7 separate regions of the Homo sapiens genome follow, and all the other regions are linked to region 6. Evidence: promoter capture Hi-C in 16 types of primary human blood cells and fetal thymus (Javierre and others, 2016). All regions are on one chromosome and are shown on one strand. The core of a region is centred on a gene start or on the middle of the fragment in contact, and the rest is flanking DNA. Distances in the headings are between cores, read along the strand shown.

Region 1 (3,302 bases), core at 739-3,238, 350 kb before region 6:
AACATAAAGTGGTAAACCTGAGGACTTGGAGTAGAATAAATTTACAAGAAGAAATGAAATTCTAAAATCTACCAGATGGTAGATGTTTGTTTAAAATGATTAAAAATGAAAGAAACTAGAGGTATAGTTGGGGAAAAAATAAGATAATCTGAAAGGATGCCCACCAAATAATGACATGATGTAATAAATTGTATCTTACTAGCATAAACTAGAAAATAAAGATTGGTAGATTCTGAGGGTAAATATTGGAATGCCGATCATATAAATCAGAGAACCTAAAAAATGCTGGATTTCTAAGGCCAAATTCAGAACACATCTCAAAAGAAGAGTCTCTATATAATAAAATATTAGTAAGTACTTAGGTACCAGAAGTATATTGTACTGTATATACAAGGAGATGAAAAAACTAGCCAGTTACTTTTCATAGATACCACTTACTTTTCACTTCACTAATATCTTTTCTTTGAATTCTTTCCAGAGACAAAAAAATTTTTAGTTGAGCTACAGAAACCTATTTTCAATGAGAAAAAATAACATATCTAACAAGGCATCAGTATTTTTGAAACTGCCAATGTTTTCACACACTTCTAAGTAAGATGATAGTATAACTGCTCACAAAACAAGCCAACGACACTGAAAATCGAATTCCAGAAGAATCTTACCTTGTGTTCACATTTCTGATCAACTGGCAGTTTCAACCACTCACTGTCATCTCCCATTGTGCTTCCAGGTTTTCCTTAGAATTAAGAGTATTTCCTGGTCAGATAAAGGTAGAAACCTGCTTAGCAACCAGGCAGTCTCTTAAGACAAAAATAACTTTTCTGAGATTATTATTTTATCATTCATGCAACAACAAGAGTAAAAATCCCGTTCTTTCGTCAGATCCCCACTTAATTCAATTAACAGGACTTTTTTTTTTTTTTTTTTTTTGAGACGGAGTCTCGCTCTGTCACCCAGGCTGGAGTGCAGTGGCCCGATCTCCGCTTACTGCAAGCTACACCTCCTGGGCTGACGCCATTCTCCTGCCTCAGCCTCCCGAGTAGCCGGGACTACAGGCACCCGCCACCACGCCCGGCTAATTTTTTTGTATTTTTAGTAGAGACAGGGCTTCACCATGTTAGCCAGGACAGTCTCGATCCTGACCTCGTGATCCACCCGCCTCGGCCTCCCAAAGTGCTGGGATTACAGGCGTGAGCCACCGCGCCCGGCCAATAGAATTTTTTTTTTAAAGTCACTCAAAAGACAGGACACAGTGGTGGCTCATGCCTGTAATCTCAGCACTTTGGGAGGCTGAGGTGGGCAGATCACCTGAGATCAGGAGTTCAAGACCAGTCTGGTCAACATGGTGAAATCCCGTCTCAATTGAAAATACAAAAATTAGCTGGGTGTGGTGGTGCAGGCCTGTAGTCCCATCTACTCGGAAGTCTGAGACAGGAGAATCGCTTGAACCTGGGAGGAGGAGGTTGCAGTGAGCCAAGATTGTCCCACTGCATTCCAGCCTGGGCGACAGAGTAAGACTCCATCTCAAAAAAATAAAGTCACTCAAAAAATATAAATATAAATATATTGCAGTCTGGGCAACATGGTGGAACCCCATCTATACTAAAAACACAAAAATTAGCCAGGCGTAGTGGTGTGTGTGCCTGTAGTCCCAGCTACTCGGGAAGCTGAGGTGGGAGGACTACTTGAGCCCAAGAGACAGAAGTTGCAGTGAGCTGTGATCATGCCACTACACTCCAGCATGGGCAACAGAGCAAGACCCTGTCTCAAAAAAACCAAAAATTTGTTTTCTAAAAAATGATGCTTTTATTTTCCCAAATAAGAACTTCTTAGATATAAAACGAAGCTGGAATAAAACTGAATTGCTGAGCTAAATGGCCTTTTAAAAGGCCAAGAAAAAAGTTTTGGAAAAAGTCATACTTTCACCTAGAATTACTTATAGAAAATAATCAATATGGGGGTCGGGTGTGGTGGCTGACGCCCGTAATCCCAGCAGTCTGGGAGGCCGAGCCGGGCGGATCACGAGGTCAGGATCGAGACCATCCTGGCTAACACGGTGAAATCCCATCTCTATTAAAAACACAAAAAATTAGCCGGGCTTGGTGGCTGGCGCCTGCAGTCCCAGCCACTCTAGAGGCTGAGATAGGAGAATGGCGTGAACCCGAGAGGCGGAGCTTGCAGTGAGCCGAGATCGCACTGCACTCCAGCCTGGGCAACAGACTCCGTCCCAAAAAAAAAAAAAAAAAAAAAAAGAAAGAAAAGGAAAGAATCAATATGTAAAAATGTTGATACTGCCAAGCTCCCTAATTCTAGCAAACATGACTAGTCAATGTTTATATAAACAAGTACAAAATTAAATCCCTGAATGAACCTTTATACATATTCTTTATGTAAACCATGTTTTTAAGTGAGGTTTAAAGTCAACATCCTTTTAATAACTTTATGCTACCTATCTTCTTTTTTTTGAGACAGCGTCTTGCTCTGTCGTCCAGGCTGGAGTGGAATGAACACGATCTTGGCTCGCTGCAACCTCTGCCTCCTGGGCTCAAGCGATCCTTCCACCTCTGCCTCCTGAGTAGCTAGGATTTGGTGGGACTGCAGGTGTGCACCACCATGCTCGGCTAATTTTGAAATTTTTTGTAGAGACAAGGTCTCGTTATATTGCCCAGACTGGTCTCGAACTCCTGGGCTCAAGTGATCCCACTGATCGTGAGCCACCGCACCCACCCCTATGCTATCTATCTAGACAACACCTTTTTCTTATAAAAGTAATGTGTGTAAACTGCAGAAAATTTAGTAACTACAGAAAAAAATCTAAGTATTAAAATACAATTTTACCACCACCTAATAACCATGATGAACACTAAAGTACGTATCCAGTTTTTTTTCAATACACATGTAGTAATATAAATCATATGAAAAAGACAGGCATAATCCCCTTACAACATTTTTGTTATATGATCACAAACATTTTCCCAGATTTGAGAATATGATGTTTAAAGTCTACATAGCACTCCATTTTACAAATGTACCATAATTACCAACCCTACCATTGGACATTTAAATTGTTTCCAATTTTTCTTTTTCATTTTTGAGACAGGGTCTCACTCTGTCACCCAGGCTGGAGTGCAGTGGTGTGATCACAGCTCATTGCAACCTTGATGTCCTGGGCTCAAGTGATCCTCCCAACCTCCGCCTCCCGGGTTCAAGTGATTCTTCTGCCTTAGCCTCCCAAGGAGCTGGGACTACAGGCACATGTCACCATGCCCAACTAATTTTTTAGTTTTTTGTAGAGATGGGGT
Region 2 (3,269 bases), core at 164-2,663, 270 kb before region 6:
CCATTCCGAGGGGAAAGTAGAGGAGCCTAGTCCAGGGGCACTGTCACCTGGAGAGTCACAGTGACACTTCAAGGGAGATGCAGGCAGTAAAACCATGCCTCCTCCAGGGCATAAACGACCCAGCAGATACCCTCTGACTTTGGGCTTACAAAGAGTCCAGGTGACCCGCTCTATGACAGGGCTTTTTTGCATGGCACCTCTAAGGGCCCAGAAACAGATGATGCCACCTAGGCTAGGCACAGTGGCTCATACCTATATCACAGCACTTTGAGGGGCTGAGATGGGAGGATTGATTGAGCTCAGAAGTTCAAGACCATCGTGGGCAACATAGTGAGACCTTGTTTCTACAAAAAACTAAAAAATTAGCTGAGGGTAGTGGCATGTGCCTGTAGTCCCAGCTACTTGGGAGGCTGAGGTGGGAGGATTGCTTGAACCTGGGAGGTCAAGGCTGCAGTGAGCTATGATCACACCACTGCACTCCAGCAGGTGCAACAGAGCAAGACCTTGTCTCAAAAAAGAAAAAAAGAAACAACCCCCTCCAAAAAAAAATGATGCCACTCAGAGGTTTGGTGCTTTTGAAGAAGAGGAACAAGGGACAGAAAGGGTGATGTTGAGAGGCCTCCATAGCCTTCTCACTAAAACTAGGTTGAGATATGGACGCTCTGCCTCTGTCTTGGACCAGACCCTGGGATGTTGGCCAGGGAGGGCAAGAACTAATGGTGGAATTAAAATGCTGGAGCCTCTTTAGGATAAGGAATCCACACAGGGGAGCAGGAAGCAGGGTGGGCTGCTCTGAGTCCCCCAGGCCACCTCAGGGCAGAGTAACTGGGACCTGCCAGGGCCTTCCTGTCTGTGGCACAGGCCACAGCCTTGAGGAAGGCTGGCAGATGCAGCCTCTCCCCCGGCTTCAGCAGCACGCAGCTGGGCTTCCCTATTGAGCATCGAGCTATCTGCCTGGCCAAGTCCCATGACCAGCTGCTGTGCCCCCTCCCCAGCGTGCCCAGCAGGATGCCCTGGGATGGCGTGTGAATGGCTCAGTGCCCTGCTCCAGCCTCAGCTGGAACAAAGGGTTCTGCCAGGGTCACTCTCCCCCCTCCCAGCATTCATCCAACCCGCTGGGCTGCTCTGCTCGCAGCTGGGGAAGGAGGGGGCCGCAGCGCATGGCTCATCTCTCCCCCTTCCTTTCTTCTCCTCTTCCTTCCCTCAGCTGGACCCTGCCCTCAGGCTGGGCTGAAACAGAGAAGGAGTCAGCTCGAAATTGTCACCCCTCTTCCTATACTCTGTACCTGGTCCAGCTTTTCTCTCTCAGCTCATCTCCTTGATGTACATCCTTGTCTCACATTATAATTCCTTGGCCTAGCCTAGGGCTTAGGGCCAGGATAAAAAGGTGTGCTGCCATGCCCTCCAAAAGCAGGGAGAGAGCTCTAGAACTTTCCCTCTCCATCTCAACCCCAAGAGTAAGTGCAAGCATAAGGTAAAACTTCCTAGCCTGCAATGCATGGATGGATGGATGGATGGACGGACAGACGGATGGATGGATGGATGGATGGATGGCTTTTGGGTTCTGTGAATCCCTGATGCTACAGGTATAATGTACGTTTCTGGGGTAAGGGATCACAGCTTTCACCAGATTCTCAACTGAGGCCTGGCCCTCTCCCTCCACATGCTATGGTAATCAGCTGCTCTAGAAAAGATGCAGGATTGGGCTGGGCACGGTGGCTCATGCCTGTAATATCAGCACTTTGAGAGACTGAGGCAGGTGGATCCTTTGAGCACAGCAGTTTTGAGACCAGCCCGGGGAACATGGCAAAACCCTGTCTCTACAGAAAAGAAATTTACAAAAGTTAGCCAGGCATGGTGGTGGACACCTGTACTCTCAGCTACTTGGGAGCATGATGTGGGAGAATCACTTGAGCCCGGGAGGTTGAGGCTGCAGTGAGCCATGATCTCACCACTGCACTCCAGCCATGGTGACAGGATGAGACCTTGTCTCAAAAAAAAAAAAAAAAAAAAAAAAAAAGATGCAGGATTTCCTGCGGAAGCCAAGTGAGGTCCAGTTGGGAGGTGCAGTGTCTCTAGACCTCACAGGAAGGCCTTGCTCCAAGCCCAGTGCTCCTGTCTCTTCGGGTCTCTCTACAAATGCAGGGTAGAGGATTCTTCCCCAGGAAGCACTAAAAGACCCAGGTGCCCCTGCCCCCACTCCATCCTTTCTGGCCTGAGAACTCTGAGAAGGGAGGAGGGTTTTTCTCACTCAGATCCTGGACAACACAGCCTGAGGAACTTCAGTAGTATGACAGGCTCAGCACAGCTGTAGGCACCCTTTTGGTGAACTCTAGCTGGATTGAACAGCAAAGATGTTTAATTCCACTCCATGTGATGGGACTCCCCGGTACACAGATCCCCTTCATGGGGTATCATGGTGAAGAAAAAGGATAAGGCTAATAAGGATCTCAACTGGGGATATTTTGTCCCCCGGAGGACATTTAGCAATGTTTGGAGACATTTTTGGTTGTCCTGCTTGGCGGTGCTTACCGACATCTGGTGGGTAGAAGCTAGGGATGCTGCTAAAGACTCTATAACGTGTATAATTCTATACAGGATTACACGCCTGTAATCCCAGCACTTTGGGAGGCCCAGGTGGGCGGATCACCTGAGGTCAGGAGTTCAAGACCAGCATGGCCAATGTGGTGAAACCCCCGTCTCTACTAAAAATACAAAAATGAGCCGGGTATGGTGGTGGGCACCTGTAATCCCAGCTACTTGGGAGGCTGAGGCAGGAGAATTGCTTGAACCCAGGAGGCAGAGGTTGCGGTGAGGGGAGATCATGCCATTGCACTCCAACCTGGGCAACAGGAGCGAAACTCCGTCTCAAAAAAAAAAAAAAAAATCTATAACATGCAGACAGGCCCCTATGACAAAGAATTATCTGGCCCAAAACATCAACAGAGGTTGAGAAATGCTGCTAACCACACACAGTAGGGAGTGGGGATGTACCAGACGGGAGTTCAGGATGAAAGCTGTGGAAAGGACAGAGAGGAAGTAGGGGGGAATAGGAGGAGGAGGTTAGGCAGAGGACAAAGCACTGGACCTGGAGCAGACAGACTTGGGTTCCATCGACCAGCCAGTTGACCTTGTGCAAGTCACGTAGCCCCTTAAGCTTCAGTTTTCTTGTTTGTAAAAAAGCCACAAGGGGCTGAACATGGTGGCTCATGCCTATAATCCTAGCACTTTGGGAGGCTGAGGCGGGCAGATCACTTGAGGTCAGGAGT
Region 3 (3,659 bases), core at 797-3,296, 310 kb before region 6:
CCCTCATTCTCTTTTGCTCTTGCTCTGGGAGAAGCAACCTGCCATGTTGTAAGTTGTCCTATGGAGAGGCCCACAAGGCAAGAAACTAATGAGGAAGGCCTCCAGCCAACAGCCTATGAGGAGCTGAATCCTACCAACAACTATGTGAGTGAGTGTGGAAGGGGATCCTTCCCCGGTCAAACCTTGAGATGAGACTGTAACCCCAGCTGATATCTGGATTGCAGTCTGTGAGACACCTTGAGGCAGAGGCACCTAGCTAAGCTGCATCCAGATTTCTGACCCATAGAAACTGTGAGATAATGGTTGTCATTTTAAGTCACTAAGTTTTCGGGTAATTTGTTATGCAGCAATGGAGAACTGATGCACTGAGCTTTAGAGTCAGACAGATCTGTTTCAATTCCACCTCTGTGATTTATTAGCTGGGACCTTGATAGATATAATCTAAACTCTCTGGCTGGGTGCGGTGGCTCACACCTGTAATCTTGGCACTTAGAGAGGCTGAGGTGGGCAGATCACACAAGGCCAGGAGTTCGAGACCAGCCTGACCAACATGGAAGAAACCCTCTCTCTACTAAAAATACAAAAAAAAAAAAAAAAAAAAAAAAATTAGCTGGGCATGGTGGTGCATGCTTGTAGTTCTAGCTACTTGGGAGGCTGAGGCACAAGAATTGCTTGAATCCAGGAGGCAGAGGTTGCAGAGAGCCAAGATTGCACCACTGCACTCCAGCCTGGGCAACAGAGTGAGACTCTATCTCAAAAAAATAAGACAAAAATTAAAAAAAATAAACTTTCTGAGCCTCAGATCCTCATCTGTAAAGTGAGGAATAATAATACCTGTGTTACGAGGTTGTCATGACATTGATATATATCCATTAATGGTAACTGTTACGATGATGATGATGAAGAACAACAGCAGCAAACTGTAAGCTACGTTTAAAGCATTTGGGGGAAAATATAAAGAAAGAGGGACATAAAAAGATTATAAATGACACATTCTACCTTTCCAGAATGATTGCTACTGAGCAAAGATGTACAAACCAATATTGTAGTAAAAGGCTGTGTTTGTATAAGGGGAAAATCATTTCCAATTTCAGTGGTTTGAAGCAGGGAGTACTGGAAAAAGCAAAGATGTTAAGAGTCAGTCTTAGATTTGCCTCTTACTTTGTGACCTTGGGTAATATCCTCTGTGCACTCAGCATCCTAGTCTATAAAGAAAATCCGAAGGGTTGTTACAGTCATTCAATAAGGAAAATGCTTAGGCTGTGACTGGAGAAGAGTAAGTATTTAGGTTTCCACCCTTTCCTTCTGCTGCCCTGACCAGGCACCCAACCTTGCAATAAGGCTGGTCAGAGCTTGATTCAGTGAACTGCAGAGCTTCGGGAGATCCCAGACATGCTCATGAAGACCAATGAGCATGTGGCCCCTGTAGCAAGACTGAAGTTACCTGTACAGCATCAAAGCTGCAATCACCACCAAAATCAGCAGAATACTGAGGAGTCCACCAATGGCGTAGCTGATATGAAGTCCTTCCCCTAGGAAGAATAGAGAAACACTAGGCAGGGGCCACCGACAACTTTCTAGCGGTGCTGGTGTGAGGAATGGAAAGCTGAAAGGCTCCTTTTGTAGGTGTTGGACCCCATACCATCTGAGGATGGCTAAGGGCCTCCTTTTCAGATAGGTAAATGGGAGGTGCAGGGAGGAGGCTGAGAAGAAATCTGTCACTCTGCCAGCATCTCTGATCCCATTTCGACCACTTCCTAGCTATCTGACATAAGGCAAGATGCTTAACTTGTAAGCCTACATTTTCTCTTTAGTTAAATGTAAATAATAAATTGCTCATAGGACTGGAGGAAATTACATGAGAGTATGTATATATGCATGTGCACACACATATAATGTGGCATATATATGGCTTATCACATGCCTGGCATACGGAAAGCATACCATAAGCTGTCACTGTAAGTGGTGAGAGCTATTATGATTATTATTTCTATGGACTTAGTTTAAAAAGAGTTCATCAACCCCAGAGTCCCAATGAAGGTTATGAAAGATATCAGTGGAGACTTAGATTCATTACATCTTCTTTTCCGGAACAGTGGGGTACTCAGGGCTTACCTGGAGCAGCAGGAACAGCGTCATTGGAACGTGCACAGAGGCCCAGCCTGGCATCCCTTTCAGAGCATCTGTGGGGCACAGAAAACTGGATGTGAAGCCTACTCATACTCAGTGAAGGTCATGCCTTCCTCCAGGAAAGGGGGAAAGGCCTGTAAGTGGGGGCTTTCAGGTATGAGAATGTACAAGATGGAAGACATCAGAAGCATGGAGAGGGCAACAACAGGAAATGGAGAGAAATCCGTGCAAGGCACTGTTTTCAAGCCGTTATACCATGTTTAAGTGTGTTATAAAATATGTACCTTTAAAAATGAGAAGCAGGTTTGGGAGTGAGTTGGAAGTCTGCAGAAAGAATACTAAGGACATCAATATTAGGCTTTCTTAAACTACCAGGATGAGTCAGAAGCAGCTGCTAGCCAAGCCAATCTGATTGGATAAAAATTATCACAAGAGCTAAATATCCCAAGGTCAAAAAATGTTTTTCTTCTCTTCATTCTTTCACAAGGGAATATGCAAGACATCCAGAGGGAGTGCTCAGATAACTAACTTGAAATGCTCAGAAGGTGACTTCTTTGTGGTACATTATGAGCAGGCAATCAAAGGCATCTCCTAAACAGCCAGAGGAAAGCTACTTGCAAGAGCATTTGGAACCAAGATGCACTGAATTTTCAAATAGAACTCTGACAATAAGAAAAGGTCCGAGCGGGGTCAAAAGTTTTCTAAATAAACCTAAAGAAAATCCGAGAGTAATAATGACTGATAGTACTTAAAAGTTAGTGAGAAAGGCACATGTTTATACCTGGGTGTTTCCTTTTCTTTACAAACTGTAGTAAAAACAGAGAATGGGGGCACACAGCATATGAATTTGATCATGTGCAAATCTTGTAACTTTAGGGACATTGAGTCTAAAGTTTTTATTTGGGATCATTATTATGTTTCTGCTTTCAGAATTGAAATCAAGTGTTAACTACCTTGTAAGCTACTGATGATATTAAAAATAAAGAGACCAGTATGTTGCAGTGGAAAAAAAAAAAAACTGTTCTAATTAGAAAAATGTCTAGAAAAGATAGACATCAAAACATTAAGAGTAAATTATATATAGGTATAGGATATTCCCTTCTTCTTTATTCACATATGTATTTCCAGATTATTTATTTATTTATTTTTTGTTTTTTGTTTTTTTTTTGAGACAGGGTCTCAGTCTGTCACCCAGGCTGGTGTGCAGTGGCACAATCACAGCTCACTGCAGCCTAAACCTGGGCTCAAGCAATCCTCCCAACCTCAGCCTCCCAAGTAGCTGGGACTACAGGCATGGGCCACCATGCCTGGCTAATTAAAAAAAAACTTTTTTGTAGAGATAGGATCTCACTATGTTACCCAGGCTTGTCTTGAATTCCTGGACTCATGTGATCTGCCCACCTTGGCCTCCCAAAGTGCTGGGATTACAGGTATGAGCCACTGCGCCTGGCCCAGATTATTTTTTATAAAATATAAATGGAAAACACAGTCATTAGAATTTTTTGCCAGGTGCAGTGTCTCACATCTGT
Region 4 (3,368 bases), core at 400-2,899, 390 kb before region 6:
AAAGTTAAACAAGCTCTTCTATTGCAGGATTTCTGACAGCAGTTAATTCGCCAAGGCATACTATAGGTCTTTAAACAAATGTAATTATATACAGAAATTTCCTAATGTATTTGACTAGAAATTCTTGGAACTGGATTTTCTGTGGGACAGCTATTAATGCTTAAGGAAAAATAACGTAGAGAACTCTTTCAGTGAACATCAAAAAGCAGGAACACAAGCCAATATAGACCTTTGAGAACAAAGGTAATTTTCTTTTATATAAATGAGACAATCCAGCTCTCACTCTTCAGAAATAAACAGCAATAGCTATTATTATAAACAGCACGACTTAGAGACTGACAGAACATTTAACTATTTTCCACTTGATTTCGTTCTGACTTACCCAGAAAAACCAAATTCTTTTATGGCATTTGATAGCCAATTCAGAGTTTCTGACTGATTTTTGGGATTCTTTTGTGAGAAAGCCATTGACACAACCTGAAAAGGGAAAAACAGCAGATCTGTGTTTTATCTCGTATTTCTTATAGAAATACAGCATGACATTAAGGCAGATGTGCATTAAACTAGTTTTCTGACGCTAAAACAACTGCAAGAATGCCTTAGGAACAAGAGTGAACCTACACAAGAAAATGAGGTGAAATGATAGTAGGACTAAAGGCATTCTGGACTATTTATAGCTTTGCAGCAATTACTCTGCATTATAATGTTTTTTTTTTTTTTTTAGAGACAGGGTCTTGCTCTGTCACCCAGGAGTACAGTGGCACAATCATCAATCATTGCAGCCTCAAGCTCGTGGGCTTTCACCTTCTATAGAATTTTTTGTTTATTTGTTTTGAGACAGTCTCACTCTGTTGCCCAGGCTGGAGTACAGTGGCGTGATCTCGGCTCACTGCCACGTCTGTCTCCCAGGTTCAAGTGATTCTCCTGCCTCAGCCTCCCTAGTAGCTGGCATTACAGGTGTGCACCACCACGCCTGGCTAATTTTTGTATTTTTGGTAGAGACGGGATTTCACCATGTTGGCCAGGCTGCTCTCAAACTCCTGGCCTCAAGTCATCCTCCTGCCTCGGCCTCCCAAAGTGCTGGGATTGCAGGTGTGAGCCTCTGTGTCTGACCGAATATTTTTGACTAAGATGAATTTTCATCACTAGGCAATAGAGTATTTTTTAAGGTAAAAATAAAAATGCAGTATCAAAGGGCCGGGCATGGTGGCTCACACCTGTAATCCCAGCACTTTGGGAGGCCGAGGCAGGCAGATCACCTGAGGTCAGGAGTTCGAGACAAGCCTGGCCAACGTGGCGAAATCCTGTCTCTATTAAAATTCAAAAATTAGGCAGGCGTGGTGGCAGGTGCCTGTAATCCCAGCTATGCGGGAGGCTGAAGCAGGAGAATCACTTGAACCCGGGAGGGTTGCAGTGAGCCGAGATTGCACCATTGCATTCCAGCCTGGGCGACAGAGTGAAACTCCATCTCAAAAAAAATGCAGTATCAAAAAAGATTTTACTTGAGAAGATAAAAACTAATGTTTAATTAGTAAGCTTAAAGTTTGGGGGAAAAAATTGGGAAAACTAGAGGAATAAGACTTCTGTGTCACTAACCTGTTCAGCAGTCCATGGTAACATACAGGCTTCGGCTATTGCTGTCATAGCTTCTTTTGCATTGTTCCCACATTTCACATCTCCAATCTTGTCCACAAGGCCATCTAATACAACCTGAGCTGACGTTTTGGAAAAATTTCCCTTCTGGGCAATCAAAGCAACTATATGAAGCTTCATTTGCATCACCTGAACAAGGATCAGTATCATAAAGCTAAGAGCAAGCCAAGGACATTTATTTATTTACTTGTATTAACAGCATGTAACAGATATGACATGGTTAGGGACAGCTGGAAACACAACTAAAGTAAAATCAGGATTTTAAACAAATATGCAAAATAATTTGTATCCTTTAATTGTTACCAATTACTTAACTGACAGTGAAGAGAGGGAAAAAAAGCTACTCAGTGTTCCAAAATACTAACAAGTAATATTGCACAGAAAGTTTATTAATTGAAAAATCTGATTTTTAAATTTTCCTCCTCTTATGATTATTTGCATTTAGTACTGAATACACACCCTAAAATACACAATAAATTACTATACTGACTGCATAACTGAGAATTACTACTAGGGCTGCCTACAAAAACACTACAACCCTCTTATACACACATGCAACACAGAACTTCAGAGATTTTAGAGAACTTGTTGGCTTTTAAGTATAAGAATAAAAAGATCTGTGGAAAATAATTTAAAGATATTATTGTGATGGCAGACCTATGGGATTAAGGACCCCTTTGCTCATAAATATTTTTCTTTGTACTGTGTGAATATTTTAACTTTTTTTGTTACGCCACTAGAAATCCTATTATACAGATTAATTTAGGTGACAAATACTCCCATTTATTTATGTATTTATTTGACAGAATCTTGTTCTGTCACCCAGGCTGGAGTGCAGTGGTGAGATATCAGCTTACTGCAACCTCTGCCTCCTGGGTTCAAGCGATTCTCATGCCTCAGCCTCGCAAGTAGCTGGGATTACTTACAGGCGCCCGCCACCACGCTTGGCTCATTTTTGTATTTTTAGTAGAGATGAGGTTTCACCATGTTGGCCGGGCTGGTCTCGATCTCCTGACCTCAAGTGGATCTCAAGTGGGATCTCACCTCAGCCTCTCCAAGTGCTGGGATTACAGGCGTGAGCCACTGTGCCCAGCCACACAAACATCCTCTTTTAAAATGCAATTATCGCCTGGCTCATGCCTGTAATCCCAGCACTTTGGTAGGTTGAGTCGAGGGGAATGCTTGAGCCCAGGAGTTCAAGACCAGCCTGGTCAATATGGAGGGACCCCAGCTCTACAACAAGTACAAAAATTAGTTGGGTATGGTGGCCCTCGCCTGTAGTCCCAGCTACTTGGGAGGCTGAGGTGGGAGGATCACTTGAACCCAGGAGGCTGAAGCTGCAGAGAGACATGTTGACACCACTGCACTATCTAGCCTGGGCAAGAGAGTGAGACTTTGTCTCAAACCCCCAAAATTTGACATAGCAGGCATGTGAAAAAATAAAAATTTAAAAAATTAAAAAAAAAATTCCCAAACCAAAAAACAAACCAAAGAAATGTAATTATCTTGGGTGGGACTTCTGCAATTGTGGAGTCAATACCTCTGAAAAACTGATCTTCCTCAAAAGCAACAAAGAACACTGGCAAAAACTATCCAAATCAACTTATCTCACAACTCTGAAAATTAAATAAGGCTTGTAACATACAAGAACCATTTAAAGAAAGGATGCTGAATTTTAGTAAGGACAGTGAGGTTTCTGGTGATTTAACTTGCCT
Region 5 (3,221 bases), core at 375-2,874, 410 kb before region 6:
TCATCCTCCTTTAAGCTGGTTTTGCTTGGCATCTTCTTCCCTTGTGCACTCTACAACCAAGGTTCAGGGAATACTGATTAGCTTGGCCACTTCTCCTTAAGAATATGATGCTGCTGCCCAGTAAAAGGGCACTGTAGAAAACAGAGATATCTTTCTACGTGATATTTCACATGAAAAAAACATGCATCACAGAATCTTGTATATGTTTTTGAACAGGTTCTCTAGAAATTTTTCTGAGAATATTCTTAAGTAACTGTTGGTTAGTTCTTGGACTGGCATGTTATGTAGTTGGAAAAACTGCTATTACTGATCATTAGTCTAGGTCACAAACTTTTTGTTTTTGTTTTCTTGAAATCTTCAACACTATTTATAGCTTTCCATATTAATGACATCTTTTTTTTTTTTTTTTTTTTTTTGAGACGGAGTCTCACTCTGTCGCCCAGGCTGGAGTGCAGTGGCGTGATCTCAGCTCACTGCAATCTCCACCTCCTAGGTTCAAGTGATTCTCCTGACTCAGCCTCCTCAGTAGGTGGGACCAAAGGCGCCCACCACCACCCCTGGCTAATTTTTGTATTTTTAGTAGAGACAGGGTTTCACCATGTTGTCCAGGCTGGTCTCGAGCTCCTGACCTCAAGTGATCCACCCACCTCAGCCATTAATGACATCTTGAATGGCATTTACACATTTCCAAACACTTAGTTTGAAAGCTTTTCTGTTTCTTTCCATTGATATTTAAATGTATCTCTTATCATAACAGTGTAACTGAAGACCTTTTGAACTTGCTTCTAGAGAAAGTTACAAGAAATGCTTTAAATATTTAAGTCACTAAAGTGGTTTTAAAAAATAATCCAAGATTTAAAATCTTCATATCAGATAGAAAGAAAATAGTAAACAATAGTACACATATTTAAGGTAAAATTCAAATTTCATTACTGGAATCATTATTATTATAAATGTAGCATGGCCACTATTTCTAGTTGGCCACAATTTCTTTCTAGTATAAACACTAATGTCATTCAGACCAAACAAATATGAGATCATTTATATGAAACTGCTTCGTAAGTTTAAAAAGATTGGGAAAAAAATTATGGCATTAAGAACGGAGTCAAAAATACTGCAAAACACTCGTGATCTAAACTAAAATAAGCACTTGTTAAATTTGGGATGAGGACAGGCAGACAGGAAAAGAACAACGTCATTGGATAGTTGAAGATAATTACCCATTTAAATTAATTCACTGAGGAGTTAAAGGGCCTGAGCATAGGGAAGAAAAATGGTTAATTGTAATATTTAGAAGAAAGGCCCTAGAGTGTGTACTCCAAAATGGGGGTGTAATAATACATGTACTGGTTAAAAAACATTCTCTATATTTTTTCATCAATTACAGGAAGTAAATTAAATAATTCTCTATTTAGACTTACTATTAGATTCATTACCCATTGCACAGTTTTGCAATTTTCCTTTTGTAAGTGTTAAATAATTAACACTCTGAATATGTTTATTAATCTCAATCTTGATAGAGATAATGACAATTTACTGTGATTTTAAAACTTAATTAAATGAAAAAATCACCCAGAGGATAAAGTTGAACATTTGAACACACTGCTTTAAATTGTCCAACTCTCCATGAATATTGAAAGAATTGCTGATGCATCAAAATAAATCCCACTGGGACAAAAGATATTTCCCTGCAGACTAACCGAAACATCTTCTAATATGATGACAACAGTGCCAAATTTGAAGGAGGTTGATTTAACTTCCTTTTCTTAAATCCAAATCAGCCTAAAGTGTTTATTATGCCAGAGCTACAAATGCTTTCTCCTTTTTTTTTTTTTTCCTGAGTCTCGCTCTGTCATCCAGGCTGGAGTGCAATGGCGAGATATTGGCTCACTGCAACCTCCACCTCCTGGGTTCAAGCGATTCTCCTGCCTCAACTTCCCAAGTAGCTGGGATTACAGGTGTGCCACCATGCCCAACTAATTTTTGTATTTTTAGGAGAGACAGGGTTTCGCTATGTTGGCCAGGCTGGTCTCGAACTCCTGACCTCAGGTGATCCGCCTGCCTCGGCCTCCCAAAGTGCTGGGATTACAGGCGTGAGCCACTGTGCCCGGCCCTTTCTTCTTTCAATAAAGTAAATCTTTCCCCGAAAATCTACATGAAAGGAAGATGACAGCACCTCTTGAGAGCAGGATGTCTCCGTTTTAGGACCTTATTAAAAATGAACCACAGAAATTTGTATAAATAATTTGATAATATCAACAGCAGTGATGTTCTTTTATATATAATATGATCCTTCCTAATAGAATGACTCAGTATATAAAATATATTTAAAAGCAAGTCTACATCGAAGTATACAGAGTTAACATACCTTTGCTTTAGAGGATAATCCTGGAGCTTTGGCCTTTTTTGGATCAGGTTTGGGTTCTGTACTGCTGGAAATACAATCTTCAGCAGGTGCTTTGAGGAAAAAAATATATATATACTATAAACTTTAACTAATATCATTTTATTTTGGACAGGTTAAATATATAATGATGACAAGGAAGCTTGCAGTCTTAAATGTATCAATTTATAAGATGTTTTCAGTTAGTTTTTTTTTTATGAGACAGGATTTTGCTCTATCTCCCAGGCTGGAGTACAGTGGTGCCTTCACGGTGCTCACTGCAGTCCTGACCTCCTGGGCTCAATGAATTCTCCCACCTCAGCCTCCCTAGTAGCTGGGACTACAGGCCCGTGCCACCGCACCCAGCTAATTTTCTTTGTAATTTTTGTGGAGACAGGGTTTCGCCATGTTGCCCAGGCTGGTCTCAAACTCCTGGGCTCAAGCAATCCACCCACCTTGGCTTCCCAAAGTGCTGGGATTACAGGCGTGAGTCACTGTGCCTGGCTTAGATTTTTTTTTCCTAATAATTTTTCTCCCAAAATCTTTAAGCGTAAGAGAGAAATTAATTCAGAAAATCTGTATCTCATTTACCAACATTTAAACTGTAGTTTCATTTGTTTGTTTAGACAGGGTTTCTGTCACACAGACTAGAGTGCAATAGCACGTTCAGGGCTCACTGCAGCCTTGACCTCCCTGGCTAAAACAGTCCTCCTACCTCAGCCTCCTGAATAGCTGGGACTACAGGCGTGCACCACCAAGCCCAACTAATTAAAACAACTTTTTTTTTTTTTTTAGAGACAGGGTCCCACTATGTTGCCCAGGCTGGTCTTGACCTCCT
Region 6 (3,214 bases), core at 210-2,709:
AGGATGATACACGCTACTGACACCGGTTTTTCAGAGATAAAGTTTCTCGAAATTCCTGCAAAAAACACCTTGCAGCGGGCCATCCTCTGATATGACTGAAGTCCAGGCCCCACTGAACGCTGCCTGAGCACAACATCCCATACCCAGCCTCCCCATCCTTCATCCAGGGCAGGCCCACAAGACCCAATGACTGTGAAGGCTCCCAACTCCTGTGGCTTTTCCCCAAGAACACCTGCCCAGTTTAATTGGAATCTGAAACCCATTTAAGAGAAGCTGTGACCAGTTTCGAAGTTTTCAGAAAATAGCTTATGGTGGTGTTATAGAACAGAGAACCCTCTGAACAGGGAAAACGACAGGGCCTCTTAGGGAGTCGTGCAAAGTTAGTAACCAGGCAGAAGAATGGAAGGTGAGGGAAGTAGAAGGAGCTTTACCGCATTGGCATTCCCGCCGACCTGCATACACCTCAGCTGGAACCAGTTCCAGTTGGAATCCAACTCTGTGGACCTGTGTACAAGGGCTGCGTCTCACCCACTAGCAGATACCAGCAGGATTTCCCTGGCAACCCGGATACCTGTCACTTGGCCTCAGGCTGCTGTAGGCACCCAGGAAACATTAATCAGCCATCACCCCATTTCCTCCACACTACCCTGTCCATGAAAACTCTCCTCTTCGTTCATTTACTCCAAAGAGTACTAATTATGTCCCCAGATCCGAAAGGAGGTCACATTCTCAGGCACGCACGCCTGGATTTGGCTTTCCCCTAATGGATGGTCACAGTCTCACTAGAGACATACTGGTCTAACAACATATCAGCAACAACAAGGTCAATGCCTCCCTTTCCCCTCAACTAACGCTCAGAGTCTCAAGCCTGACCGTCAAAAAAGAGGAAGTTTTGGCCCAGAGGCGGAGACGGACCGCCCATGTGCCAAAGGGCCCACACAGGTGGTTCCCTCTGGCAGGAGGCTACCGGACCCTCTCGGCCCAGAGGCTTCCCACCGAATTCAGAGCGGCCCAAGTCGAGGCAGCCACTCTCCCTTGTTGCCCAGACACCCCTGGCCGGCCGGGTGGAAACACGGCAACCGCGCGGAGAGCCTACCTGATGAAGCTCAGATGGACGCCCAGGGAGCGGTGCACCCCGGAACAGTCAATGCACAAGAAAACACCGTACGTGATGCTGGCCCAACTCGGATTCTTGGCGCCGCAGTCGAAACAGGCCTGGGTGGAGGCGGCGATGAGCGAATCGTCAGGGGCCCCGAGTAAAGGCCAGGCACCGACACCCCAGAAACATAACCCACCTCCGCCCTTCTCCCTCCCTCAGGCCCCAGCGGGACGAGAGACTCCGCGCGCCCCCTGCTCACGCACCTTGTTGGTTGGAACTGCGCGAAGCCTCTTAAAAAGAGTCTGGATTTCGGTCTTGTTCGGCTCCGCCGCCATTTTCTCTCCTTCCCAGACACAACCGCGGCTGACGGGTCCCGCCGCGGGCCAATCCACGGCGGGGAGGGCGGGCTCACCAGGCCGGCCTCAGCGGTGCCTGGGCCAGCCGAGGGGTGGGGTGATTGGAGTCCGATCTGGACCAATGGGCAGCCGGCGGGACGGGGGCGGCGACGACAACCGCGGCCGCAAGAATCAACGCCGCGCCGGGCCAATCCGCAGCCGGGGCGGGGCGACGGCGCGCGGACCGGCCCAAACCTCCTCGCGCGCGTAGTACCCTTCCCCCCGCCCCTCCCACGCCGCAACCCCCAGGTGGAGTCGCCCCCACGCCGCGCAGGCTGCGGGAGGCTGGGGGCGGGGACCCCCACTCCAGCTAATTACAGATCGATGAATAAGGATTAGGCTGCCCAAACACTCCTCGTCCCTCCGGCCCGAACGGGCAGACGCATTGGCCCGCGTCTCGCCCAGCCTTCAGCCGTTCTCGGTTAACAGCAAGCCTGACAGCGAGTCCCCTCCACTCCAGATTAGTATCTCGAAGTTCCAGAGCAGGTACCAAGCAGGCAAACCCTTTTCCAACCCCGGCCCCATAACAGACGCTAGGCCTCTCTCTAGATGCCCTCTGGTGGCCTGGCAAGGGTGTCCTATCAAAAAAATGCACATGAGCCCGACAGTGGTGTTTTTGTTTTTGTGTGTGGGTGTGTGTCAAGTTTTAATACACGCTAGAACAAGCCACAAGAGGGTGCTGCTAGGCCAGAACTACACTCACCCCAAGCCCACCCCAGGAACCCCAAAGCAGAGGTCAGGAACTGAGTCCACAGCTCCTGGGGAGGCCCAGGCACCCCTGAACGCTTCTGTCACCTCTGACCTCCCATCTTGCCCTCAGCCTAGACTCGTCCCTTCCCTACCAGTCCCTTCCCTAGACAAAGGCCCCTCCCCTCCCTGGGTCCCAGGACTTCCTCCCTCAAGGGACAGAGGAGCAGCCAGAGAGCGACGGTTCAGGGCCCTGAGGGTCCGGCTCTCCAGGAGAAGCTGGGCTCTGAACCAGGGTGGGTAAACGTTGCAGAAGGGCTGTCAGGACACTCAGGCGCCCACACACTCCACGTAGTTGGCAGGGTACAGGCCAATGCGGCCACTCTGCAACTGGCCTTGGCACCAGCCCTGCTCGTCCTCCTCACTCATCTTCAGCAGCTCCTCCCCTGGGGGAAAGGGGATTGGTCACTGCCAGTGGCCCTGGCCCAGGCCCTGTTCCTGCAACTGGGTCAAGGACTGAGGGGGATGGTGTGGTCCCAGAGCCCAGCTAGCAAAGACATGGCTCAGGCAGAGGCAGGTCAAGGTCAGCAAGCTGCCCCACCCCAGACCCTGAATGCAGCCACCAGGCACCAGCTATCTGGACCTGGAACAGCTGAAGGGACAGAGGACTGGCCCTTAAGAAGTGGGTATTTGGCTTCCCTTTCTGACACCCCTGCTCAGGCAGATAAGGCAGAGGCTGAAGCTAGGAAAGGGGTCCCAGGGTACCTGCTCGGAAGCTCAGCTCATCAGCTTCCTGGCCAGCGTAGTCATAGAGTGCCCTCACCCGAACCCCGGTGGCAGCCTTCCGGGGACTCTCTTCATCTGACCACTCCTCATCCTGCCCCGTGCTGGAGAGGGGAGGCAAAGGGAGCAGCTCAGAGTGCAAGGAACACGGGGCTGGAGATCTCACCCAGGATCAGGGCAAAGGCCTCCCTACCCCCAGAGGCACCTGGGAGAGTCAGGTGAGGTACTAAAGATTCTAGCTCTACCTCGC
Region 7 (3,496 bases), core at 270-2,769, 330 kb before region 6:
ATTCTTAGCTTAATTTATTGGCTCTTTAGGTCAAAAGAAGGACTTTTCAGGGTGATGAAAATGGAGGAAGGAGGAGCTCACCTTTCTAAAAATGAGTTTTCAATTACTATAATTATGCATAAGACAGGCAGCATTTCTGGGCCAAGATTTGATGCCTTGGTCCCATGAGAATTAAATTAGAGCCACGCATAAATTTGGGGCAAGTTCTGCAAAAACCACTTCAACCTCTATTGATGCTGAATAAAAAACTCATTGTTAAGATTCATCAACACGAATATATTTTCTAACACACACTAGCCACTCTGGCAACAACCCTTTCATCATTTTCTATCCAAGAAACACAACGGAATGCATTTCAATCCTGCTCAACAATTACCACGATTACAAGTAGAGGGGAGAGCTCAAAAGTAAGAATCTAGTTCACCGAGCCCGACCTTAAAGTAGCAAGGCCCAACCCACACTGCTGGCTATTGTATTGGTTCCCCAACACCTCCAGGGCTGGAAGGACACCAGAACGCTCCCGACACGTTGAGAGAGAGAAAGCCAGTCGTTAAGGGCGGGGTGGTGGATGATCGGAATCGTTCACATCGCAGCAAGCCAGCAGGGACACAGGTGTGCGGCCAGGCCCCGGTGCCGCTGTCCTTGCTCCAGGGCGACAAGGCCCTTCGCAACCACCACAGCCCTCGTAGGCGCTTACTTATTCATTCACTTGACAATTACGCGAGAGGCACTCTAGCAGGGCCGGCTCTCGGGGCCCCCGCCCTAGTCTTGGTAAATCGCTGCCGCCAGGCGCGGCCCTGCACCGCCCGCGCCCCGCGGACGCTGCCACCCGCGCCACGCTGCGGCGCGCTCTGGCCACCTGGAGCCCAACCCCGGCCTCCGCCGCACACGAGCGCCCACGCCCCCGGCCCTGCCCGCCGCAGGTCCCCCGGCCTCCGGCTCGCTTCGCCGCCTCAGACCTGCCGGGTTCGTGGGGCAAGTGGGGCGCGCGTCTGGAGACCTCCAGCCGCCCAGGATTCAGGGGCTCCTCTGCGCGCGCGATGCCTGCACTCGAGGGCCTCGCGGGTGGGGCAGGCCCACCGACCACTCACCTCAGCTGGGTCAGAACCAAGCGGCCTGCTCTAAGCCGTTTGAAACCGCTTGGGCCGCCGCACACCCCGCAGTGTCCTCGTTCTTTATTGGTCCTCGACGGACCGCCCATCGGACTTTTATTGGTCCATTTGAAAGGCCTGTGGGCACGCGCCGCCCGCAGCCTTAAAGGGGCCGCGCGCAGCCGTGTTTCCCTCTGGACCAGACGCCGCCTGCACGGGTGGGGACGCTGGTCGCTGCCGGGGGCAAGTCTGCCGACTCCAGAAAGAAAGGCGAAAGAATGTGTGTAGACCCGGGCATCCTTGGTCGTCAGCATGTTTGCTTTATTTAATTACAGATGTTCAGGCTGCTGTCAACACCCGACAATTTTTTTTGGTCATTTCATTCCCTAGAGATTGTGAAGCTAAGTGCTGTGAGGGAAACCAGAGGCAGCTGAGATGTCGTGGAAGTAACAGCGAATGAAGCCAGGATGCTGGATTCTGACCTTGGAACTGTTCTGAGTAAATCACTTTTCTCAGTAAATCTTCTGGAGTTGTTTCCTTATCTGTAAAATGGGATAACGATGTTTCCCTTACAATTTAATGGAGGAGTTAATATAACTAATAGAATGTCTGAGAAAAGCCTTTGTGAACTGTAACGCATCCTGCAAATGCTTAATATTCCCTTATAAAAACGAGAGGCTTGGTTAACATGATCTCCAGAATTTTAGCTTAGCTCTACATTCAGTGTTTCTGTGAATGAGTTCAGGTCCTTACTTCCAAGGAATTTGTAATCTACAGTGGTTGGAGGAATATAACATACAGACTAGTCACTAAAATTCAAAGCAGTGTAATAACTGTATAAATGAAAAGCTATAAATGCTTAGAGACAGGAGAAATTTGATGGGGGAGGATCTGTGAGGAAGATGAATTTTTAACCTAGGATTTAAAGAATGTGTAGATTCCCAACAGGCTAAAAGATGGAGAGAGGATGGATAAAAGTAAATGAAACAATTACATGTTTTTTCATTGTCAAGTTGGCAGAGATGAAAAAGTTCAACAGCCTTTGGTTGGTCAAGATTTGGAAAAACAGGCTGGGTGCAATGGCTTATGCCTGTAATCCTAGCGCTTTGGGAGGCCGAGGCAGGAGGATTGCTTGAGGCCAGGAGTTCAAGACCAACCTGGGTCTTGCTATCAAGACCCCATCTCTGTTTTTAAAAATATAAAGAGATTTGGAAAAATGGACACTCAAAGTCAATATTGGTAAGAGTATAATTGGTACAAACCTTTAGGAGGACAATTTGACAGTTACTAAAATGTACATAATCTAGTTCTGGCCCAGTAATCCACTATGAGGAATTTATCGTACAGATCTGTGCAAGTATGCAAAGAAAAATGTACAAGGATGTTTACTGCAATACTGCTTTTTTTTTTTTTTTTTTTGAGACAGTCTCGCTCTGTCGCCCAGGCTGGAGTGCAGTGGCGCAATCTCAGCTCACTGCAACCTCCGCCTCCCGTGTTCAAGCGATTCTCCTGCCTCAGCCTCCTGAGTAGCTGGGACTACAGGCACGTGCCATCACACCTGGCTAATTTTTTGTAGTTTTAGTAGAGACGGAGTTGCACTGTGTTAGCCAGGCTGGTCTTGATCTGCTGACCTCGTGATCCTCCCGCCTGGGCCTCCCAAAGTGCTGGGATTACAGGCGTGAGCCACTGCACCCGGCTTTTTTTTTTTTTTTTTCTGACAGAGTCTCTCTCATGTCACCCGGGCTGTAGTGCAATGGCGTGATCTTGGCTCACTGCAACCTCCATCTCCCGGGTTCAAGCAATTCTCCTGCCTCAGGCTCCCAAGTAGCTGGGATTACAGGCACCTGCCACCACGCCCGGCTAATTATTTTTTATTGTATTTTTAACAGAGATGGGGTTTCACCATGTTGGTCAAGCTGGTTTCAAACTCCTGACTTCAGGTCATCCACCTGCCTCAGCCTCCCAAAGTGCCGAGATTACAGGCGTGAGCCACTGTGCCCGGCCCTTTTTTTTTTTTCTTTTTTTTTCTTTTGAGATGAAGTCTCGCTCTCTCGCCCAGGCTGGAGTGCGATGGCACCATCTCAGCTCACTGCAACCTCCACCTCCCAGGATCAAGCGATTCTCCTATCTCAGCCTCCCAAGTGGCTGGGATTACAGGCATGTGCCACCAAGCCCAGCTAATTTTTTGTATTTTTGGTAGAGACGGGGTTTCACCTGTTGGCCAGGCTGGTCTTGAACTCCTGACCTCAAGTGATCCACCCGCCTCGGCCTCCCAAACTGTTGGGATTATAGCTGTGAGCCACTGTGCCCAGCCAGCACTGCTTAAGATAAAAATAAAATAAAATAAAAAAATAAATCTGGAGGCCAGGCATGGTGGCTCATGCCTGTAATCCCAGTGCTTTGGG

Evidence for each region. The method cuts DNA at HindIII sites, captures the fragments that hold promoters and counts their contacts. A CHiCAGO score of 5 or more calls a contact.
Region 1: a fragment that was not itself captured here is called in contact with the fragment with the promoter of ARFGAP2 in region 6 in 3 of 17 cell types (M0 macrophages, erythroblasts and megakaryocytes); the score reaches 6.8 in M0 macrophages.
Region 2: a contact is called between a fragment that was not itself captured here and the fragment with the promoter of ARFGAP2 in region 6, in 9 of 17 cell types (M2 macrophages, M1 macrophages, megakaryocytes and 6 more). The highest score is 13.7, in M2 macrophages.
Region 3: a fragment that was not itself captured here is called in contact with the fragment with the promoter of ARFGAP2 in region 6 in 2 of 17 cell types (M2 macrophages and erythroblasts); the score reaches 6.6 in M2 macrophages.
Region 4: a contact is called between a fragment that was not itself captured here and the fragment with the promoter of ARFGAP2 in region 6, in 3 of 17 cell types (M1 macrophages, megakaryocytes and M2 macrophages). The highest score is 11.2, in M1 macrophages.
Region 5: a fragment that was not itself captured here is called in contact with the fragment with the promoter of ARFGAP2 in region 6 in 2 of 17 cell types (erythroblasts and M1 macrophages); the score reaches 7.0 in erythroblasts.
Region 7: a fragment that was not itself captured here is called in contact with the fragment with the promoter of ARFGAP2 in region 6 in 6 of 17 cell types (M1 macrophages, megakaryocytes, M2 macrophages and 3 more); the score reaches 9.6 in M1 macrophages.

Annotation. Positions count from the first base shown.
Region 1 is chr11:46,820,513-46,823,814 of GRCh38, forward strand. CKAP5 (cytoskeleton associated protein 5) reads right to left here. Exons shown (of 44, transcript NM_001008938.4): 2 at 663-756. The coding sequence starts at 719. Among named protein-coding and RNA genes, the nearest start is that of CKAP5, 24 kb to the right of the region's middle. The HindIII fragment of the contact is 8,913 bases long and covers 1-3,302 here.
Region 2 is chr11:46,902,983-46,906,251 of GRCh38, forward strand. The region is part of intron 1 of LRP4 (LDL receptor related protein 4); the gene reads right to left. Among named protein-coding and RNA genes, the nearest start is that of LRP4, 14 kb to the right of the region's middle. RefSeq lists an enhancer at 2,947-3,269. The HindIII fragment of the contact is 3,483 bases long and covers 1-3,155 here.
Region 3 is chr11:46,863,004-46,866,662 of GRCh38, forward strand. LRP4 (LDL receptor related protein 4) reads right to left here. Exons shown (of 38, transcript NM_002334.4): 35 at 2,116-2,183; 36 at 1,445-1,532. All of the region lies in intron 2 of LRP4-AS1 (LRP4 antisense RNA 1), which reads left to right. Among named protein-coding and RNA genes, the nearest start is that of LRP4-AS1, 18 kb to the left of the region's middle. The HindIII fragment of the contact is 5,453 bases long and covers 1-3,659 here.
Region 4 is chr11:46,782,892-46,786,259 of GRCh38, forward strand. CKAP5 (cytoskeleton associated protein 5) reads right to left here. Exons shown (of 44, transcript NM_001008938.4): 17 at 1,597-1,782; 18 at 383-477. Among named protein-coding and RNA genes, the nearest start is that of SNORD67, 22 kb to the left of the region's middle. The HindIII fragment of the contact is 231 bases long and covers 1,535-1,765 here.
Region 5 is chr11:46,765,207-46,768,427 of GRCh38, forward strand. It overlaps CKAP5 (cytoskeleton associated protein 5), which reads right to left. Exons shown (of 44, transcript NM_001008938.4): 27 at 2,369-2,457; 28 at 1-50. Among named protein-coding and RNA genes, the nearest start is that of SNORD67, 4.3 kb to the left of the region's middle. The HindIII fragment of the contact is 1,839 bases long and covers 706-2,544 here.
Region 6 is chr11:47,175,420-47,178,633 of GRCh38, forward strand. ARFGAP2 (ARF GTPase activating protein 2) reads right to left here and starts at 1,460. Exons shown (of 16, transcript NM_032389.6): 1 at 1,363-1,460; 2 at 1,097-1,215; 3 at 432-504. The coding sequence starts at 1,434. It overlaps PACSIN3 (protein kinase C and casein kinase substrate in neurons 3), which reads right to left. Exons shown (of 11, transcript NM_016223.5): 10 at 2,947-3,068; 11 at 2,103-2,627. The coding sequence ends at 2,512. RefSeq lists enhancers at 1,208-1,437, 1,979-2,560, 2,408-2,457, 2,538-2,587 and a silencer at 1,488-1,917. The HindIII fragment of the contact is 14,588 bases long and covers 1-3,214 here.
Region 7 is chr11:46,845,129-46,848,624 of GRCh38, forward strand. It overlaps CKAP5 (cytoskeleton associated protein 5), which reads right to left and starts at 1,152. Exons shown (of 44, transcript NM_001008938.4): 1 at 1,092-1,152. LRP4-AS1 (LRP4 antisense RNA 1) reads left to right here and starts at 1,283. Exons shown (of 3, transcript NR_038909.1): 1 at 1,283-1,371; 2 at 1,482-1,589. RefSeq lists enhancers at 395-972, 1,427-1,546 and silencers at 807-956, 1,137-1,216. The HindIII fragment of the contact is 8,680 bases long and covers 1-3,496 here.